Linked DNA regions of Homo sapiens: region 2 is linked to region 1. The links are contacts of gene promoters, found by promoter capture Hi-C in blood cells and fetal thymus (Javierre and others, 2016). All regions are on one chromosome and are shown on one strand. The core of a region is centred on a gene start or on the middle of the fragment in contact, and the rest is flanking DNA. Distances in the headings are between cores, read along the strand shown.

Evidence for each region. Contacts are between HindIII fragments. The CHiCAGO score rates a contact against its expected background, and 5 or more counts as called.
Region 2: a fragment that was not itself captured here is called in contact with the fragment with the promoter of BPHL in region 1 in 2 of 17 cell types (naive CD4 T cells and M0 macrophages); the score reaches 6.0 in naive CD4 T cells.

The regions. Positions count from the first base shown.
Region 1 is chr6:3,117,275-3,120,126 of GRCh38, reverse strand. BPHL (biphenyl hydrolase like) reads right to left here and starts at 1,416. Exons shown (of 7, transcript NM_004332.4): 1 at 1,280-1,416. The coding sequence starts at 1,386. It overlaps LOC107986556 (a long non-coding RNA gene), which reads left to right and starts at 1,480. Exons shown (of 4, transcript XR_001743928.3): 1 at 1,480-2,338. RefSeq lists a silencer at 1,119-1,508 and an enhancer at 1,547-2,182. The HindIII fragment of the contact is 8,418 bases long and covers 508-2,852 here.
Region 2 is chr6:3,997,699-4,000,550 of GRCh38, reverse strand. No RefSeq gene overlaps it. Among named protein-coding and RNA genes, the nearest start is that of PRP4K, 22 kb to the left of the region's middle. The HindIII fragment of the contact is 4,300 bases long and covers 1-2,852 here.

The DNA.
Region 1 (2,852 bases), core at 167-2,666:
GGGAGGCAGAGGTTGCAGTGAGCGAGATCACAACACTGCACTCCAGCATGGGCAAAAGAGCGAGAGTCAGTCTCAAAAAAAAAAAGAACTATATTGGTACAATCACAGTAACTTATTTCGATGCCTTTCTGCAGACAGGAAACTGGAAAAAATAATCATTTTCACTGTTAATTTATACAGCTGTAGCCATTAACATGTTTTTCCATCTATCAAAATAGCCCTGACCATCTTATAATAATTCTAAAATTAAAGGAGCTAGTCAATTGCAATATGAAATTTTAAAAGCTGGTCAGATTTGCCCTCTTTTCTCCTTCTAAATCAAGTTTTCAAACTAAAAGTTTCTATGTTGGATCAAGTACAGTTCTAAACGCTGTGTACCTATCTAGTACTGACTTTATGAAAGTAGCCCATCAACAGTCAACTGCGCACATGCACTGTGTACGTTCGTTGTATACGTGTGTTTGCATGTGTGTAGGGATGTATGTAGAGAATAAAGTAAAACAAGCTTCATGCCGCTCTATCCACATTTCTGCCCAGTATCTCTTGGGACCAAGAGTATCCATTTTCAAGACAGAAGGTCAGAAATTAATCCAGTTTTTTTGTTATTGTTTTACCTGAAATGGGGGGACAGGTGGGAGGACAAAAGAGAATAAAGCAGATTCCTGGGCATCTCCACACATGTAGATCAGATCCTCTGGGAGTGAGGCCCAGGATTCTGAATTTTCAGTTCCCAACGTGATTCTTTTGCACATTAAGGTACGAGATCAGCAAGCAAAGAGAAGACTTAGGGCTCTCGGGACCCGTGATTAAAGCCTTAGCGGTACTCAGGCTCAGGCTGATTTCTGACATAAGAGAAAGAAGAGATTATTGTCCTTATGCCCTTAGTGTGGACTCTGGACAGAGCAATGGACTAATGAGGGCGTTGGGATTCTAGTCCGTGCTCCGTCACGGGTGAGTCCATACTACAGGCAAATGTATCTCCCTGGGTCTCTCTGGTCTGCACACTGAAGGGGCTGCACTCTATAGCCCAAGCCTCCACGGCTCCAGACTCCTTGAACTGAGGCTGACCGAGGCGCATGCACGATCGAGGGGCTCGAGCACCAAGCGCGGCTGGCCCCCAGGATCGGGGTCTCGCGGCACAAAGGGCGACAGGGCAGCCAGGCCGCGCCCACGCCCCGTGCCCGCGCGCCGGGAACTCCTGCTGTCGGCACGCGCCCCTCCCGCCGCCCCTCGAGCGCGCCGATGCTGGGGATCCCCGGGGCGAGGTGGCCGCCATTACCCGAACGCGGCCGCGGGTCCGGCCCGTGGGACGTGGATCCCGGGCTTCAGCGCTGAGAGAAGCAGCCGCAGGCGCAACACGCCCCGGCCGCCCAGCACAGCCACCATGGTCACAGGTCGCGTAGCTGCCGGGAGTGCGCATGCGCTAAGACCAAGCGCGGTACCCGGCCCACTCTGCCCCGAAGCCACGCCCTCTGCTCCGCCCACCTCGCCTCTCCATCCTGCTCCGCCCTCTGCCCGCCCCGCCCCGAAGCCACGCCCTGCCGGGTGCTTTCCCATGGGCGACCGAAACTCGGCTCGTGGTTTCGCAGTCCTGGAACCGCCGGCACCCGCGTAGACCGTCCCCTCTCGGTGCTGGCTCTGGCTCCCGGGATGAGTGTCCCCGTCGGCGCTGCCCCGCCCTCGCTCGTCGCCTCAGCGACCATGGCCTTTCCAGGAGGCGAGGCCGCCAGCCATAGCGCCCTCGCTGCGTCGGCGTCCAGGCGGGACTCCGGAGTGGGCGGGGCTCCGGCTCTAGGCAGGCTGCTATGTTGGATCAAGTAAAGTTCTAAACGCTGTGCACCTATTTAGTACTGACTAGTACTAGGAAGTGTATTTGCTTTTCGGAGATGATGGGATCTAAATTTTGTTTATACCACTTCACGCCCATTAGGATGGCTACTAGCAAAACCCCCAGAAATTAGTGTTGGTGAAGATGTAGAGAAATTGAAGCCCTTGTATATTGCTGTTGGGAATGTAAAATGGTGCAGCCATGTGATGAACAATACTGCGGTTCCTCAACAAATCAGTTATATGATCCAGCATTTTCTTTTCTGGGTATATAACCCAAAAGAATTTAAAACAGGGTGTACAAGAAGAAATGTTTTTACACTCACGTTGACAGCGGCACTATTCACAATAGCCAAAAGGGTGGAGGCAATTTAAGTGTCCAAAAACAGATACATGGATAAGCAAAATGTTGTCTGTGCATGCAAGGGAACATTTTTTAGCCTGAACAAAGAACGAAATTCTGACACTTGCTACTACATGGATGAACCTGGAGGACACTATGCTGAGGGAGGTAAGCCAGTCAAAAAAAGACAAATACTGTGTGATTCCACTTATATAATAAGGTACCTAGAGGAGTCAAACTTATAGGGACAGAAAATAGAATGGGGGTTGTTGAGGGCTGGTGGAAGGGGGAATGGAAAGTTGGTGTTTCATGGGGACAGAGTTTCAGTTTGGAGAGATGAAAAAGTCCTGGGGATGGATTTTGGTGATGCCTGCATTACATTGTGAGTGTACTTACTGCCACTGAACTACACACCTAAAAGTGGTTTAAGTGGTAAGTTTTATGTATGTTTTACCACAATTAATTTTTTTTCTTTTGGCTGTATAATTGCAGCTTTATAAAGGTTATAGACATTATCTAATTGAAAGCTCAGTGGAGAAAAAAAACAACTATTGCTTTTTAAGTCAATCGTTCTGCCTTAATTGGAAATAACTGGCAGATTTGTGGCTACTGTTGTAGCCTTGGCTTGAATAATTGGAGACAACAGCTTCTTTGCATATTGCATTTCTTCTCCTCCAAGAGA
Region 2 (2,852 bases), core at 119-2,618, 880 kb before region 1:
GTAATGAAAATAGGGAGAATAATTACACATTCTTGCTTTCTTTGGATCAGAGCTTCTTTACTGGTAAATACTCCCCTTTTCATATTTTTGTACCAGTCATCATAATTTCAAAAATAGTATAATACTGTATTCTAAGCATAACATTTTAACTTGTGTTTATATGTGAGAAGTTTAGAAAATATAATAAGAAAAAATAAAAATCTCCCACAATCCTACTGGAGGCTATGAATCTTCTCACTCCCATCTTTTCCTGCACACATGCCAACGAACTAAAAAGGATCAGAATATGCACACTGTTATGTAATCTACCTCATTCATGTAATAATGTATCATGGATGACTCGATGCCATTACATATTAATAGACATAGTGCCTGCAGAGTATTATGTGGACACACTCAGGGCTGATGCTCTGCTAGTATCTTCAAGGCTGCTGGAATAGCCATGCTGGTTGCTAAAATATGGAAAGACTTCCATACTGGTTAGTAAATGGTGCTGCCCTGAGCCCTCTGAATGCCTTCCCACTGGACCTCCCCCCCATCACACTCCCCAGCAACTAAAGGGTTAACGCCTGTCCCATCTGGGGCCTCTAGGATCCTGCTATAGTAGTGTGGCCAGCCTGCTTTCTGATTGATCAGTGCCCATACCAATGGTTAAAATTTTGGATATCATTCTTAAATGTATCATACCACATTGTTGGTAATATTTCGTGTGCTTATTAGAAAGTATTTTTCTGTTAAATATATATATGTGTGTATATTTTTAAGTCTTCCGACAGACTTCTTTGACATGTTATGTCTTCAGGAAGCCATAGGCTCTCATGGGAAATTGGTGTCTGGAATTATCACTGCATTAATGTAATAATATATATTTACTAGAACAGTGGTTTGACATATGAAAATCTTAATTTATACACCAAGCATACTTGAATGTAGACTTTTCCTTCTCTATAGACCAGAAACCATGGCATTTATTTGGAATTGCTTGATGTCACTTTAAATTGAGACATTCAATCCATTCCTCTTTTGAATATGAAAAACTTTTTCCTTTAAGACAATAGTATTTTAGACTTCACCATCCTCCCATACTGTTCTTTTATATTTCTTCATGTTCTTTCTTCACTAATCCATTTCTAACACACCCATATAATTTTTCAGATTTTTTTCATATTTCCATTTTTAATATTCCACATTATATGGGTAATTTTTTATAATCTGGCTTTCTGCATTTGACCTCATACTAGTTACCAGCTTTTATTTTTTTTAAATAAACAGCTTTGTTGTAAGGTTCATTAAAACAAAACAAAATTTCTTTTTTTAATTGAGTTAGGGTCTCTCTCTGTCCCCCAAGCTGGAGTGCAGTGGTGCGATCTTGGCTAACTGCAACTTCCGCCTTACGAGTTCAAGCAGTTCTTTGCCTCAGCCTCCCAGGTAGCTGAAATTACAGGCACACGCTACCAAGCCTGGCTGATTTTTGTATTTTTAGTAGAGATGGGGTTTCGCCATGTTGGCCAGGCTGGTCTTGAACTCCTGAGCACAAGTGATCCACCCACTTGGGTCCCCCAAAGTGCTGGGATTACAGTCGCGCAACACCACACCTGGCTAATTTTTGTATTTTTAGTAGAGATGGGTTTTCGCCATGTTGGCCAGGCTAGTCTTGAACTCCTGAGCTCAAGTGATTCACCTGCCTTGGCCTCCCAAATTGCTGGGATCACAGGCGTGAGCCACCACACCCAGCGAAAAGAGCAAGTAATTCTTGCAAATTTTTTACCCAAACCTTTAGAATGTGTTCTTTTTTTTTTCTTTTTTTTTTTTTTTTGGTTTTGGGTTTTTTTTTTTTTTTTTTTTTGAGCATTTATGAAATGGCTGTGAACTTCTTCTAACTTCTAACTTTCCAAGTTGTCTCCTTTTGGCCCTAGGAGTAGAATTTTTCTTTAATTCTCAGCTGGTGAGATCTGTTGCCACCACAGTTCAAAATAACGATTAAGTACTGAGGCCAGCCCATGCCTGATCCTTCAGTGATGTTAGGAAGGTGAATGCTTGGCTGTTTGAAAGCCTCCTTATTGTCATTTCCAATCCATTCTCTCTGCTTCTATTCCTTTTCTCCCAAAACATTTCAGTGTTGTCAGTTCATACTCTGGAGTCTTTGGAAAAAGAGATTGTTGTCTTTTTATGAATTTGTCCAAATTTTAGTTGTTTCTGGTTAAGTTTAGACCAAGAGGGATCCATGTCCCTACAGGATTACCCCTATTTCAACCAGTAGATGAGGAATATCCAGCTTTAATTTGTCAGAGCAAAAATCCATTAATGTTTTCTCATTACTCATAAAAAAAAATCCAGCTCCTTACTGTGGCCTATAAACCTCTCCATGATTGGCCCTCCTTAATTTATCTCTTTTAGTCTTGAAGTTTCAGGCACACCTCCTTTTCTTTTATTGAAATTCTCAAAGCCAGGTACAGTGGCTCACCTGAGTTTATTCAAGGCTAATCCGTAATTAGGGAAATAAAGGTTACAGCTGCCTGTTAGTGACTCAGGTCGTATAATCACATTCCTTTAAGGCTCAAAATAACGTTCCAATAGCTTTGATTTTGAATTACTTATTTTCACAAGTTCTATAAAATTACAGAGTTCTCATCTATTTTTGTTGGCAGCTGTTTGCCTAGCAGTTGAAAGTGCTTAGCACATGATAGTATATGATAAACATTTGTTTAATTTATTTCAATATTGTCAGTCCATATTCCAGCTTCTTTGGCAAAGGAGACTGTTGTTTTTATATGAATTTATCCAAATTTTAGTTGTTTCCAGCTAAGTTTAGACCAAGAGCCCCCACAGAATTACTTCCATGTCAACTAGTA